Regions from separate parts of the Homo sapiens genome. Here all the other regions are linked to region 2. The links are contacts of gene promoters, found by promoter capture Hi-C in blood cells and fetal thymus (Javierre and others, 2016). All regions are on one chromosome and are shown on one strand. Each heading gives the region's core, a stretch centred on a gene start or on the middle of the fragment in contact. The rest is flanking DNA. Distances are from core to core; before and after follow the strand shown.

Region 1 (4,381 bases), core at 1,049-3,548, 670 kb after region 2:
TTACAGGTGTAAGCCACAGCGCCCAGCCTGACCTGTCTTTTTCTATATGGACTACATTTATTCTCCATCCTCACCTTTTGTTTGGAATTTATTCAGCTATTCAGCTTGGTTTAATTTATACTATCAGTTATATTTCCTGTTTGACACTCAAAACTAAATAGCTCTATTTTTCAATAGCAAAATTTCAAAGTGTCTGTTGACTCTAAGTAAGATGAGGATTTTTAGCATGCTTTTACTTTCCTCAACCACTTCCAATTCCCAGGCATAACGACAGTTTATTACGTATCTTCACACTTTAGAACTATTTGGACATTTGTTTGCTTTATAGCTATAGCTCTGTGATTCCTTTGACTTACCAGTTAACTGATATTTAATTGAACATTCCTTTTATAACTTCCCTCATTGTTTTTATTGTCTCTTTTTTTTTTTGAGATGTAGCCTCGCTCTTGTTACCCAGGCTGAAGTGCAATGACGTGATCTCGGCTCACTGCAACCTCCACCTCCCAGGTTCAAGTGATTCTCCTGCCTCGGCCTCCTGAGTAGCTGGGGTTACAGATACCCACCAACATGCCTGGCTAATTTTTGTATTTTTAGTACAGACAGGGTTTCACCATGCCAGCCAGGCTGGTATTGAACTCCTGACCTCAGGTGATCTGCCCCTCAGCCTCCCAAAGTTTTGGGATTACAGGTGTGAACCACCACATCCGGCCTTTATTGTCTAATATTTTACCTTTATGAAAGGAATGTTTTGGCCAGCTGGAATAGACCTTGACAGTGTAGATCATGTGTGTGGTCTCTAGGGAAGGTGCTATTTCTTACATTCCAGGATCCAGTGCCCTACTACTTGAGCATATGTACTGCTTGCATTATTTATTACATTGTTAGGAGTTGCAATCACTGGAATGCTTGAAAAAACATCATGGTCTTTGGCAGGGCACAGCTGTGGTCACTTCACAAAGCAGTTTCCTAAAGAGTGCTGTGGCCTGTCCACTTTCTAGTTGGCAAAGATCCCAAGTTCTTAGGTATTGATTGATTCATAGGGAGCAGGGATAGAAATCTACCTTCTTTCTGCTCCTTTAAAACAAGTCTTTTATATGCCATGCCCTTTGTACTGTGTCTGACACATGGCTGTCACTCAATGCTTATTAAACGAATGAGTACATTAATATGTCAATTCTGCCTCAAACAAATCCAACATGTATCCATGACTCTACAGTCCATCATTCCTGCTCTAGCTAAGGTCATTATAGTCCAAACTTTCTTTCAATTTTTATCCACACTACAGATTTTTGTGGTTTCCTTAAGAGACCTGATCATAAGCCACACTTTCTTAAAAATCACCAATGGCTCTCTAATGCCAAACTCTTTAGAGAACTTTGACTTTTTTTTCTAGCTCCATCTTGTTTTATAAACTGTCCACTTGAGCCTGGTCCCTGAACAGGTCCTCATAGTCACAGTTCTGGTACTTTTCCAATCCCATTCCTCCATGTACTTTTGAGTACCCTTTCTCACACATCTTGTGAAATTTCACACCCCAAACCCTCAAACAACACTTCCTCTCTGACTTCCTGGCCCCATAACAAGTACTCCTTTACTCTGTCCCCATAGTATTTTCAACATATCCTAGAGAATTTAGTACATTTAATTGCACTTCAGTTGTTTACTTCCACTTTAGACTTAAGAATTCCTTAGAGCAAACATTCATCTTTTCACACCAAACTATTATAATGCTTGGTACTTAATAGTATCAAGTACTACATGACCTTAATAGATGCTCAAAAAGCTTAAATTCCATTTCTAACACTAGACATATACCACTCTACACTAAACTGGAAGCAAATCACAGCCTTTCTACTAGAAAATGTATTCTGACTTAGTAAAGCAATCTCTCCCCAGAGAACCACCCCCATACACTTAATTTTGCATTCATTTCAGGGTGTTCATGAATGCCAATAACCAAATTCCACCCCAACAAACACTGTGGCTGTAAATTGAGATTCTCTTCTCAACAAATACGACATTTGGCATGGTAGAAAGAGATCAGACTGTGGCTAGAAACATCAAGTTTTAATACCAGCTCCTACACTTAGCATGAGTTAATATTTAAGCTCCAGGACTCAAATTCCAAATTTTTAAATGTGGTGAATACATACCGACTTTGCTAGTTTTGCTTTATTGAAAACTGATAAAGTATCTAGCGCAATGTAGCCATAGAAGTGTATTTTTAACTACAACTTGTGTCATGGAATTGGCATGGAATATTCTGTCACCATCTCATGAAAGTAAGGTAATGCAGTTGTCACTTGCCACTTGCAAATGAAACATGAAAATAGTATTTATTGTTCAAATACTTATAATATGGGGGCTTTCTGTATTGAATTTTTAAAATCTTTTACATAATCCTTTTTCAATTCATTCAAATTAGTATTTTACCTTAAGTGTCCTGGTTTTATCTTATAGTAGTAAGATTGTTGGCTTTCTTTTCACAAAGGTCTACCAATGGGTTCATGGCACTCAAATAACCATAATTCACTTTCTCATTTCTTCTGTATTATGTACTTTTTGTAAAAACACCTATCAGACTGCACCTGACATACAGCAAATAAGTTTTTCATTAATGGTTAACCTTAGAATCTAAAATTGATTACCAACGACTACCTCCCAGCCTAAACCATATAAAGCAATACAATGAAAAACAGGCTTGAATTTTCTCCAGATATTTAATGCAAGATGCAATGTAGCCATATTCCATGAAATGTGGTTAGCAGTAGGGGAGTTGTAGCCCTATCGAATCAAAGTATTACAATACAGCTGAAAGCTTTATATAGACGTATTTCGGTTCTTAATTGCACTAATGCAGACAGTTTGATAGATAAGCTTCTCTCTTGTGCTTTTTCTACTTTGGGAGGTTATATACTTTAGATGAGAGACAAAGAAACTCTACTGGTTTAAGAGTTCTCAGTTTTACTTTTACTATAGACCTTTTTTCCCACCAGTTTAGATGGGAAGACCCAGCCTTTGGTATAAATAACTTACTTCCACAAAAATATTTAAAGGGTATCTTTAGTGTTCACTGTCAGTTGTGTAGTCTTTTGGTAAGGGGGTGGCTAGAGCCTCTTTACTCTCAGTAAGTGCTCTGGGCTGATGGATAAACACACTAAATTTAACACCCTGGTTGTTTGCAGCTCTGACAAAACCACTATTAGCAGTCATTGTGATGGCTTTTAGGGTGTCTCCCGTCCCAAAAATTGTTAATGAGCGGCTATTAATTTTTGAACTGGCCACTAGTCTCAAGGCACGCTCAGAAGGCTGGTCTGGTACCACATTAATTCGCTTAATTAACACAGTGGCCCTCTCTCTCTCCCCAGGTCCTCCTAAGGTATCTAAAATAGACTGAAAGTCCTTGACAGCAGATTCACAAGCAAACAACTCCTTGTCCTTCATAAAGGCCTCCAGCTGAGGTAGAACCTGCTCTTTCCTCTCTTGCTCTGCTTGTTCTGTGAGCACTTTCTCTTTGAAAATAAAGTGGCAGCCTCCATAGCTGAGGGCAGATACATATGTGATTAAAGTAGTAATGTCCAGATTTACTCTTTTGCACACATCGACCTTAATTTCTGTTGGAAACGCAACACTTGCTAGTATATTTTCTCGGTCAACTCTGGTCACCTGCAAAAGTTCAGGGCCCTCATCATCTGATTCACTCTCACTTGGTTGAAGCTCTTCAGGGTGATCTAACAGAGCGTTGACTGCTACTATGTCTCCTCTCACAGATATGCCCATTTCTTTCAGCTTCTCTGCCATGGGGCTGGAGACACTGTTGTAAAATGCAAAGATGATGTGAGGGTTGCTATACTGCACTGGCTGCTGGTGACTGGCCTGGAGGAAGTCTTCAGCCTGCTCAATGATGCTTTTGTCACCATATTGGCCCCTGCCCAGCCAGATGTTATGAAGAGCTTCAGCCTTCCGGCCAATGGCTTTCACCCAAGTATGACCACCATTTGCAACTACATCTACCACAAGGGTTTGCTTTTCTCCTAAGGTATCTGTATAACCAAAGACATGAAGAACACTAACAACTTCTTCCAGGTTTTCTGCTGATTCCACAATGGCTCTCAGGTGTGTTAGGTTAGTGCTCTGTAAATGAGACTCTTTAATAGCTACTTTCCCAGCTTCTACTTTCTGCAAGAATTTTAATTCTGCCTTCAATTTGCTGCACAGCTTTGCACCACCTTCTATGCCACCTTTTCTTGATCTAGAAAGTGATTCTGCTCTCTTGATCAGTTCCTTGGCTATGGCGATTCGTTCACAGAGCATGGAATGTGCAGACATGCTGTCAGCATTATTCCTTTCCTAGGGAAAGAAACAAGGCAAACTTCAGTAG
Region 2 (4,871 bases), core at 987-3,486:
CCAATATTTCCTAACATAAACAAATTCTTCAGATACTTCACAGAGTTTACATTGTTAAAACCAGTCCCGGCAGCTTTAATATATCCCCTCAACTGAAATACTGTTCTGCTTTAGAAAAATTAAGAGATTTTGAGGCTATTTCACTATTTTAAAACATAGCATTTTCCTCCTTCAAAAGAATCTTGACACATGTAATTAAGAAACTGTCAGACTACTATTAATTTTTAATCTAAAACCTAAATGAAATAATTACAGGAATCAATCAATAAGGCACCTATTCAAAATTACCGAGCAATTACATAAATACTCAAAATTAATACTTTAGGTCAATTCTTGTAGATTTCGGTCTATAATATGCTAAGACATCAAACAACACAAAAAGTGTAGCATGGGGAGGATGAATGGTTCCTGCCTTAAATAGACTGAAAAGAGCTCATTTCAGACGGCCAGGGTGCAGGCCCCCCACCCGCCATGCCCAATGCGCTCAAGCTGAAACTCTTTTATTTTTAAAAGTTAATTTATTTCCACCAGACACATATTTCAGGGATCTAAAAAAACGGCCTCATCCAAATTCTGTACAAAAATCACATTTAAGAGGGAAAGGCCTAATTACTCGAATTTTCAGCAAAGTGTATATACTGTGCTCTGGAAAGCCTAACTGGAGAGAAGAGGGAGGAGAGGAAAAGGGGAGCAGGAGGTATTTTTTAGAACTAATAATACCAGCCCGGCTAATGGCACTGCCATGTATTTGCACAGCGGCCGGCCCTCCATACCTTTGACTAAAGGGTTCTTTGACTTGGAGACGCAGACAGTCCATCATTTCAAACTGAAGTGGCAGCTGGAAAATGTGGAACAGCTGGCAAAGAGCTGGGAGAAAATGTTTTACATAAATATATGTACATATAAACTGGCAGAGGGCCATGAGCACTGTACCCAAGGCCAGAATCTACCCGGCAGTCTGCACTGGGGAGATGAGAAGTTGGGGCAGGATGACCAGCGGCGGAGGGAGCCTCCTTAATCCTCTTTCCACGCGGGGTCAGGCAGGGAAGCCTGGGGTGCAGCGCCTCTCGGGGGACGGCATCTTACAGAAGGAGGTGCAATGGGGGACAGGAGCACAAAGTTCAGGAAAGGATAAAAGGCCGGGTGCGGGGTGGAGCGTCCGCTTCGGACAATCTGCTTAAAAGTCGCTTCACAAACTCTGCAAGTTTGGGATCAATATTTACACCCTCTCTGCCTTCTCCCGCCCGTTTTCCCGCTGCTACTCAAGAAAGTAACTGTCCCCTGCTGCTCTGTGTAAACGCGGCACCTTAAATGATTATTGCATGGACCACGGTTACTTTGTGTGTCTGTGCGCGCTGCCCCTGGAAAGGAAAAGAAATAAGAGAATCCCAAATCATATACAGATGGTACAACTTTCACTTTTCCTCTATGACGACGAAGGCGCGCCTCTCTCCATCCGCTCACACCACACCCCCGCCCTCCGAAGCATAGCCCGGGCTGGAGAAGCCCCAGCGGCGGCGGCCCCCGCGGCGGAGGTCCCCGCGCGCACCCACCATGCCTCCCGCCTCCTTCCGCCCATCCCGAGCGCCGTGCGCGCCCGAAGCCCGAGCCGTAGAGCGCCACCGCGCAAAGGAAGGAGCCAGGCGCGTGCGGGGCTCGCGGAGTTCTTCTGAACCCTTTGGATGGGGGCGGAGGCGAGGGGCGCCGCCACCACTGCGGCAAACTTCGTCCCCCCTCCGGGAGGTGAAATTCTCCAATCCGTCTCCGGCCGGTCCGCGGGTCGGACTCTTCGGAAAGGACCTTCCAGGAGGAGGGAGCGAATGCAAGCCTTGCTCGGACGCCTCACCGGCGGCTCTCTAAATCTGGGCGCCTTTTGACAGCCATTTTCACTCCATCCCGTCCCCACGCTGGGGACCACCTCTGGCCCCGGAGGCGCGGGCGCGGCCGCAGGAGCGGGCTGCGGGGTCCGCGAAACAAAGAACTTCGAGCGGGACGTACCTGCGGCGGCAGCGGCTGTCAAGTCCCCGAACTTCCCATAGACCCGCGGACGGGGCGCAGGCTGGCGGCTCCCCGCTCCGCGCGGCCGCGGGCGGCTACGGCTACCGCGAGCGGCCGGGCTGGGCGCGGGGTGCGCCCGCCGCGGGCATGGTGCGGCGCGGGCGGCCGCGGGGCGCGCGGGGAAGGCGGGAGAGCGGCGCGGGTGAGTGGGAGCGGCGGGTGTGCGCGAGTGCGAGTGTGCGAGCGCGCCGGTGGCGCTGCCCCTGCCCGCTCCCTCCCGCTCGTGCAGCTCCGGCATCAGTTTCGGGGATCGTGTAATCCGATCCCTTCTGACTCACAAGCCCTGAGTGACAGTTCTGATTTGGTTCAACCGCGGGAGGGAGGGGAAAGAGAAAGAAAGAAACCCCCAGCCGTACGCCTCTCCTGGCATCCAATCGACTTTCTGGAAAAAGGTCCCATCCCGGCCTGGTGCCCCGTGCTGGGTGGAGAAGCCCCCCGCCCCGACCTGGCACCGCCTGCACTACTCACGGGGTGGAAAAGTTGTCCCTCGGCTCCGCGCTCCCCTCCCGCGCGCTCCCTCCTTCCCTTCTCTCCTCCTCTTCCTCCTCCTCCCCGCGCTCCTCCTCCCCCAAGTTTTAACAGATGTTGCCGGACTCTCCTCGCTCCCTCGCACTCTCTCTTCCTCCGCCCCGGCCCCCGCCCAGTCCCTTTTCTTTCAGCCACTCTCGGGCTCGGAGGGGACGCGCTGAGCAGCAGGACGCCTGCCGCCGCAGGGGGCGAAGTTGGGAAAACTTGGAGTGCTGCTCGCCTTACTTTTGCTTTCTCGCTCCTTCCAGGCCGCGCCGGGAGCCCCCGCTTCTCCCGCCCGCCGGGTCCCCAAGCCCGGAGTGGGTCCCAGCTGCGAGGCGGGCGGCGGCGGCTGGGAGGCGGCGCGTCGCGGGCCGGGGTCGGGGGCTGGGGGGGAGCCCGGGCGCCGCGAGCCACGCGCGCGCTCCCTCCCCGCCCTCCGCCGCCGCCGCCGCCGCCGCCGCCGCCTCCTCCTCCTCCTCCTCCTTCTCCTCCTCCTCCTCCTCCTCCGCCCCTCCCCGGTCTTCACACAGACACATTCATGCCTGCTCCTCCTCTTCCCCCTACTTGACCCCGCGCCCTCCCGGCGCGCCGAAGCCCCACCCACCCGGCGAGGGGAAGGGGGCCCGGGCGTGATGTCACCCGCGCCCTCTCTCTTCTCTCTCCACACCGCCAGGACACCCCCCAAATGCGCGCCCTGGCACTCGTGCTGCGTCCTGTCTGCTCCCATCTTCTCCCACCCAGCCTCTCTTTCTCACTCTTGCTCAAGGGCTGGACTCCCCTTTATTCTTTTAAGGCTTCTCTGATTACCACCGCCCCCCATCCTTGGCTCCCCATCTCCTTGTTTTACATTTTCCCAAAGCCATCCCCGAAACTCCCTCTCGCGGGATGATGCCTTTGGAAGTTCAGGGTTTTTCTCTCCACCGGACTCGTCTGCCCTCGGGGCCAAATCCGCGAAGCGAGGAGGAGCTCCCACCACACAGCCTGCTGTCCCTATGGGCCACTTTATAAAAGACACAAAAACAAAGACCCCAGGCTTGGAGCCTGGTCTCTAACGTGCCGCTTTTCCTTGAGCTACAAAGTGTCTCTGTCCCTGCTTCATTTTCAGAGGCCCATGCTAGTAAAAGTTATTTGGCCTCCTTCCTCGACCATCCAGTCCTTGTTCATCTGCGTCATTTTAATATATCCAACCTGGACATGTAACTTAAAAAAGGAGTTCTCGGGGGGAAACACAGGAAGAAAAAGAAAGAAAAGAAAGCCCCTGTGACATTCCAACATCCCCTCTTTCTGGTTAAGCCGGGTCCACCCAGCCAGAAGTGCCCCGGAGCTCCGGGTTGCTTGTGTGGCGTTGCCGCCAAGTGTCTTGACTGAAGGAAGAGTGTGGGTGGATGAATGATGAGCTATTAGAATTTGAAGAGCATTTTGAGATTCAAATGCTTAACTGAAGAATCTTTTAACGAAATTGAGGGTGGTATTCATTGTTTGTTTCTTGGGACTCCTTCCTTGTCACAATGACATGACAAGTGCAGAGACAGACTTAAGGTTTTATGGTGGAAGTGGTGGAGGTAAGGTGGGGCTAAAGGCCCTAGTTAGCCATTTGTTTTAAGATTTCCCTCGACCTCACGGCTCAGGAAAAAACAAAACACCACTGACTCATCGCAGAGAGCACGAGACTCAGAAGCCCTGTGGCAGCCCCATCTCCGCGCTCACTAACTGGCCTCAGGCCTGGGAGGATTCTCTGAGCCTCCATAGGCTCTGAGCCCATCTAGGGGATAGTGTTAGGAGTGCCAGGTCGCGTACCTCCCAGGATGGCTGAGGGTTTCCAATGAGAAATACATGGAAAAGTATAGAGGGCTACAAGTGTGTAAGAATTATGCTTTTACAATTGAAGAGAATTGCAAGCCACTCTTTCCTTTATATACTCCCAGCATCAGTTACAATTGTTTTTAGTATTCATGTACTGCTTCTGCCTCAATCACATGAATACAAATAGTACATCCTGATAGCCTACTCTGTTCACCCAATGGCAAAAAATAAATACAAAGAAAGACAGCCAATAAATCATCAAATAATAGAATAAACTAGATATTTCGACTCTTACTTCAGTCTTATAGCACATTTTGAATCATGAAGATCTTGATTTTTCAGTTCTTAAAAGACAAGAACAAAGCAAAAGCAGCTAATCTTTCCCCCTATGCCCGTCACAATAGCTAAACAAAAAAGAGGAAGAATAATGCTGTGTCTCTTATGTGTCCAACTCTGCTTTAATGGTAAACCCATACATATAAGTAGGCACATTTTGCAGA
Region 3 (4,862 bases), core at 2,340-4,839, 590 kb after region 2:
TGTGAGAAAGAAGGCAGGTCCTTTTCATCATAAACTCTTCCGTACACTTCTATTAAACAATGTGTTTGCATTGCCTTAATTAATTTTTAACACTAAGCTAGTTCAGAGCCTTCTCTGAAGCATACAGTTATAATGCATGTGAATGTCTTTATGTTACTGATCATCTCGGTCAATAAATGGCTGAACTCAAACAAGGTCTTAAAGTACCTTTTCCCTTGCCCCTTCTTTGTCGTGGATCAGCTCCTTTCCCGGATCAGAAATAAACAAAGGGAAAAGCCCACCTTACTTTCTTTCCTCACATTCTGTTGACTTGTTCAACTCACTTGTGATTTTTATTTCCCTGAGTGTTCACAGGAACACTGTCCTCACTCCTTGCCCCCACCCCTCTGAGCTTCCTGATTAATAAGAATTCAATCCCACATTCATTAAGCCCCTTCAGCTTTAACCTTTTCATTCTTCTCTAGCAGAGACCTCTTCTTGAAGAATCCCAAAGCCTCCTCATTCTGAACATCTTAGATCACAATTTAAAATCAACACATCAGTTTCAAGAAAGAGTTATATTGTGATTTACTCATAATCACCCTCCCTTCAATTACTCAGGCATTTATTCACTTCCCTTGGGCTGCAAATCCAAAGAGCGATTGATTTTCAGGCTCATGGTGGATGCCAACTCAGGGATAAGGCTGTTCTGGAGGGGAAGGAGCCACCCATGAGCAGAAGCTACCTTGAATTCATTTTCCACAGTTGGAATTAAATGCTTTTGGCACCCACCGTCAATGTGATTTTTAACATATCATGAAAGGAAGTTAAACTAAAAAAGACACATGCAGGCAGAACAAACAGAGGATTATGGGGTTTTATTCATAGGCATTATGATAGAAAAGGTAAGGTGGTGCCAATGGTTTTACAGTTCATGTCAAGTGAGACAATTCGTGCTGGAACCTCAGAGCTGGTTCTCGAGACAGCTGTACTCTACAATGGAGCAGGGAGCAGTTCATAAGGCACTGGCTGACAGATTCCTCAAAATGTTTGTTCCAATCCTAGGCTTAATAAGTGATCCCCTTAAAGCAAAGTTGGTTCCCCAGAACATTTATACAAACAAAGGGGTTTGGACTCCACTAGGAAAACACTGTCTTTCTGGTTTAAAAGTTGGAGGTTAGTATCAATCTTTTCCGTCAAATTGCATACCTCTAAGGGAAATGACAAGTGGAGAGTGCATGAGCCTTTGGTGTGAGCACCCTCCAAAACCTGAGCCCATTCAGATGCTGCATCTCTAAGGCTCTGACAGATGATCATCCTTTTTACATCCCATTAAAACACTTGTGCTGAGATGATTTCTTCGTCTTGGGGAGATAGAGATGTGAACCTCAAGATGATGCATTGTGTGGGCTGGGCAAGACCTATTTAACTCACCATCAAATGTCTAACTTTTGGATCACTTTACCCCAGCAGCACAACTGCCTCTTTACAATGTATTTGGTTGAACTTGGAGGCTCTACATCTGGTTTCGTCCAACTTCAGCTCATTTGATTTTCCATTGTCCAAAGATCACATCTGTGCATTTGAAATCCCCCACCAAATGCCACCACCGGCTCTGGTTCCCACAGGATATAGTGCTTCTCCTAATCAGAGCTGATGCTTTAATGGCGAGAAAAACAGGCATCAAGTATTCAACAAATCTATTCTTTGGCACCTCTTTTAGCTTTTATTAAGGCGAACGTGAACAAGGGCAACGCGAAGTCTAATAAATATAGAGGACAGGAAAGGCTTACGCTGGATTATGGCCAGGCCTGCTTTGCCCATAATAGGGCATTTAATTTTTCATTTATTGATTACACTGTGTTTGCTACAGTAGCCCAGCTTGCCAAGAACATAGCATTATATGAATTCCGAGAGCAGGAAGGACTCAAGGAGTAACATACAAGGAAATTCAAGAAACTTTCTTCAAAACATTGGCCATTGAATACCATTTTTCTCAATTTTGAAAATAAATTTTTTAACAAGTATAAGGCCTCACATTACATGATGTGAAAAGGCTAAAAACAGCAATAGAAATTACATTCATAAAAGTGCATTGCCAACATACAACAAAGGCTTTGGCTTGTCCTGTGCCTGTGGGGATGTAGGCATGGCTGGCAGGGCTGCCTTGTGCTAATCCTCAGCTCCCTGGAGATGCCCATCCCTGGGCACTGGCTTGAAAATAAAAATTTAAACCTCTCTGATGTTTGACATGATACGAACTGAAGCTTACAAGTTGAGTGTCTGTGCTCGTGGATATGTATATGTGAGTGTGGGCTTTGATGTGTGTGTGCCTATGTGGGATCTATTCCTTTTCCTTGATTATTGTCTGTCCTGGTCATATTCTCATACATTTCTTACCCCTCAGAACTTCTTGGTATAAGAGGAGTACCTATTGACTTAAAAGGGAAATTTTAATTTTAGAGCATTAAATTCCATTGGCATTAGTGATTAGGAGACTCACAGGTCTTTGCTCATCAGACATCAAGAAATCAGAGAAGTCCACATCTCAGGACTCTTAAAAATACGATTAACCTCTCTATTTTTTTTTTAAATGCTCTCTTCCAATAAGCAGAGTATTTGGAGCTTAACGATCATGTATTTACTATTTTGGTAGTTTTTAAGCTAATATTAAAATGGTTCTATTCAAAACATTTGGGACTATTTTAATATGTCACTTGCTTAATACAATCATGCAAACATGTTCTCAACAGGTATGTATTTTATTCCCTCCTAAAGGCACAAAGAGAGGAGGGAGACTTGGCTGCTCTTTGCTCTAGAGCCCAAAGGCATGAACCATTGAGGTACAACAGTTTGAAAATACACATGGGCTCTTTTTTGGTACACATTTGGTTTCCATTTGCTTGAAATAGTTTTGTAGCCTAATAAAAAAAGAACCTACATTTTTTATATAGGGAAGTTAACTGGCTGTGGTTGGAAGATTTTTTTGTTTTTTACTCAGTTATTTTAAGGATATTATCACAATAATGCCCAACACTCCATTAGAGTGACGGAAGTGAGCATTGACTTGATGTAGTATGTTTTATTATTCATCATCTAAAACACCAAGTGCCAACACCCACATATGGGGTTATGGCATATGTACAACAGGAAAGCATTTTCTAGAAAGCAGTAGGTCTTCTATAGCATAATATTCCAAGGTTGCCATCATTCTTTAACCAGCTCCCTAAAAGAAAGAGCAAATGGTCAGGGATTTTTTCACGCATAAAACTACCATAAACTCTAATCAAATGGATGCTTGCTTAAGGATTTGAATTCCGGAGTATCTCCCATGCAGAATAAGTTAAGAGCTAGTCTGGAATATTGAGTAAGGGAAGTTCACAGACCTCGCAGAAGCCAGCACAGATGAACATTCAAAAGTTCACAATTTCCAGGCTTAGGTCAGTCCTTAGGAGTTCACAAACACAGATGGAATATTTCTTTTTTTTTTTTTTATACTTTAAGTTCTAGGGTACATGTGCACAACGTGCAGGTTTGTTACATATGTATACATGTTCCATGTTGGTGTGCTGCACCCATTAACTCGTCATTTACATTAGGTATATCGCCTAATGCTACCCCTCCCCCCTCCCCGCTCCCCCCACCCCACAACAGGCCCCGGTGTACAGATGGAATATTTCTAAATACTTCTACTCAATGTTTACTTTCCTAAAATACCAACTAATAAGCACCACTGGAAGGATTTCTTAATTCATGAGTTCCGAATACACCGAGAATTTAGCATTTAGAATCCCCATGATCCAGGTATTTAAAAACTCACCCGTTTATATTCAATCAGACGTCTATTTTTATAGATGTTCATTTATTTGAAATATAAATTGATGTTCAGTAGAAAGCAGATTTCTCAAGAAGTAACCATAGTGGCCTAACAACAAAGAGGTAATATTTTGTATACCAGTGTGCAGCTTTCTCATTGTGGGGGATTACAACAACATGAGTTCCTCTCTAGCCATCCTCTTCAGGAGTGTTGTAGGAAGGTAGACAACTCCCGGACATGGTGGCTCATGCCTGTAATCTCAACACTTCAGGAGACCGAGGCTGGAGAATAGCTTGAGCCCAGGAGTTTGAGACCAGCCTGGGCAATATAGTGAGACCCCATCTCTACAATCATTTTTAAAAAAGCAAATGGACAACAGATGCTAACGCACTTGGAAAAAAAATTCTACCTTCATAAAATAATGGCTGCCAGTGAGTCCTTCTTATGTGGTACTCTTCAGCTTGCCTTCCCCTTCACAGTGATGCTGTAAGACAGGTATTATTCTCATTTTAAAGGAATAAATCGAGTCACCTCCAAGACCACATAAACTAGAAAGCAGAGTACTGGGATTCAGCTTGAAGATGCTGCTAAATTATTCTCACTGTCCATGAGCTTGAGTCTCCCCTTTGTGCCTGGAGTATTAAGGGGAAGAGGACCATTATATTTTTCTCACAGACATTCTCTCCTACTCCCATCGTTCTATTTCCTGCTAACTCCTGACCCCATTCATGTGGCAAAAGAAGAGGCTAGATTGAGCTGAGTGAGAGCAGGTGTTGGAGGAGGCAAAGAATGGAGAGAATTTCCTCAGTCATGGAATTCTATGTGATTGATTTGGGGTGGTCATGGTGTTTCCTTCACCTGACCAGCAATCTTGAAGCATCATCAGTGGTCCGTAAGATGTACATATGGTCGGGGCCTTCTCTGACCTTTTATGTTTCCTTCTAGCATTATCCAGGTGAATGCTGCCTTCGGGTTTCTGGTGTCTGTAAGTCTCCTGCACAGTACCCTGAAATGTCAGGATTTATCAGGAGTAGTCTCAGCAATGACAAAGCCCACCTGGATTTGT

What was found. The method cuts DNA at HindIII sites, captures the fragments that hold promoters and counts their contacts. A CHiCAGO score of 5 or more calls a contact.
Region 1: a contact is called between a fragment that was not itself captured here and the fragment with the promoter of GLI3 in region 2, in 1 of 17 cell types (endothelial precursors). The highest score is 5.5, in endothelial precursors.
Region 3: a fragment that was not itself captured here is called in contact with the fragment with the promoter of GLI3 in region 2 in 1 of 17 cell types (M2 macrophages); the score reaches 5.5 in M2 macrophages.

What each region holds. Positions count from the first base shown.
Region 1 is chr7:42,906,572-42,910,952 of GRCh38, forward strand. C7orf25 (chromosome 7 open reading frame 25) reads right to left here. Exons shown (of 2, transcript NM_001099858.2): 2 at 2,702-4,350. The coding sequence starts at 4,329. The coding sequence ends at 3,064. Among named protein-coding and RNA genes, the nearest start is that of C7orf25, 3.3 kb to the right of the region's middle. RefSeq lists an enhancer at 4,328-4,381. The HindIII fragment of the contact is 1,035 bases long and covers 1,782-2,816 here.
Region 2 is chr7:42,234,973-42,239,843 of GRCh38, forward strand. GLI3 (GLI family zinc finger 3) reads right to left here and starts at 2,237. Exons shown (of 15, transcript NM_000168.6): 1 at 1,999-2,237. RefSeq lists an enhancer at 1,981-2,962. The HindIII fragment of the contact is 5,518 bases long and covers 1-4,871 here.
Region 3 is chr7:42,825,074-42,829,935 of GRCh38, forward strand. No RefSeq gene overlaps it. Among named protein-coding and RNA genes, the nearest start is that of C7orf25, 85 kb to the right of the region's middle. The HindIII fragment of the contact is 2,690 bases long and covers 2,245-4,862 here.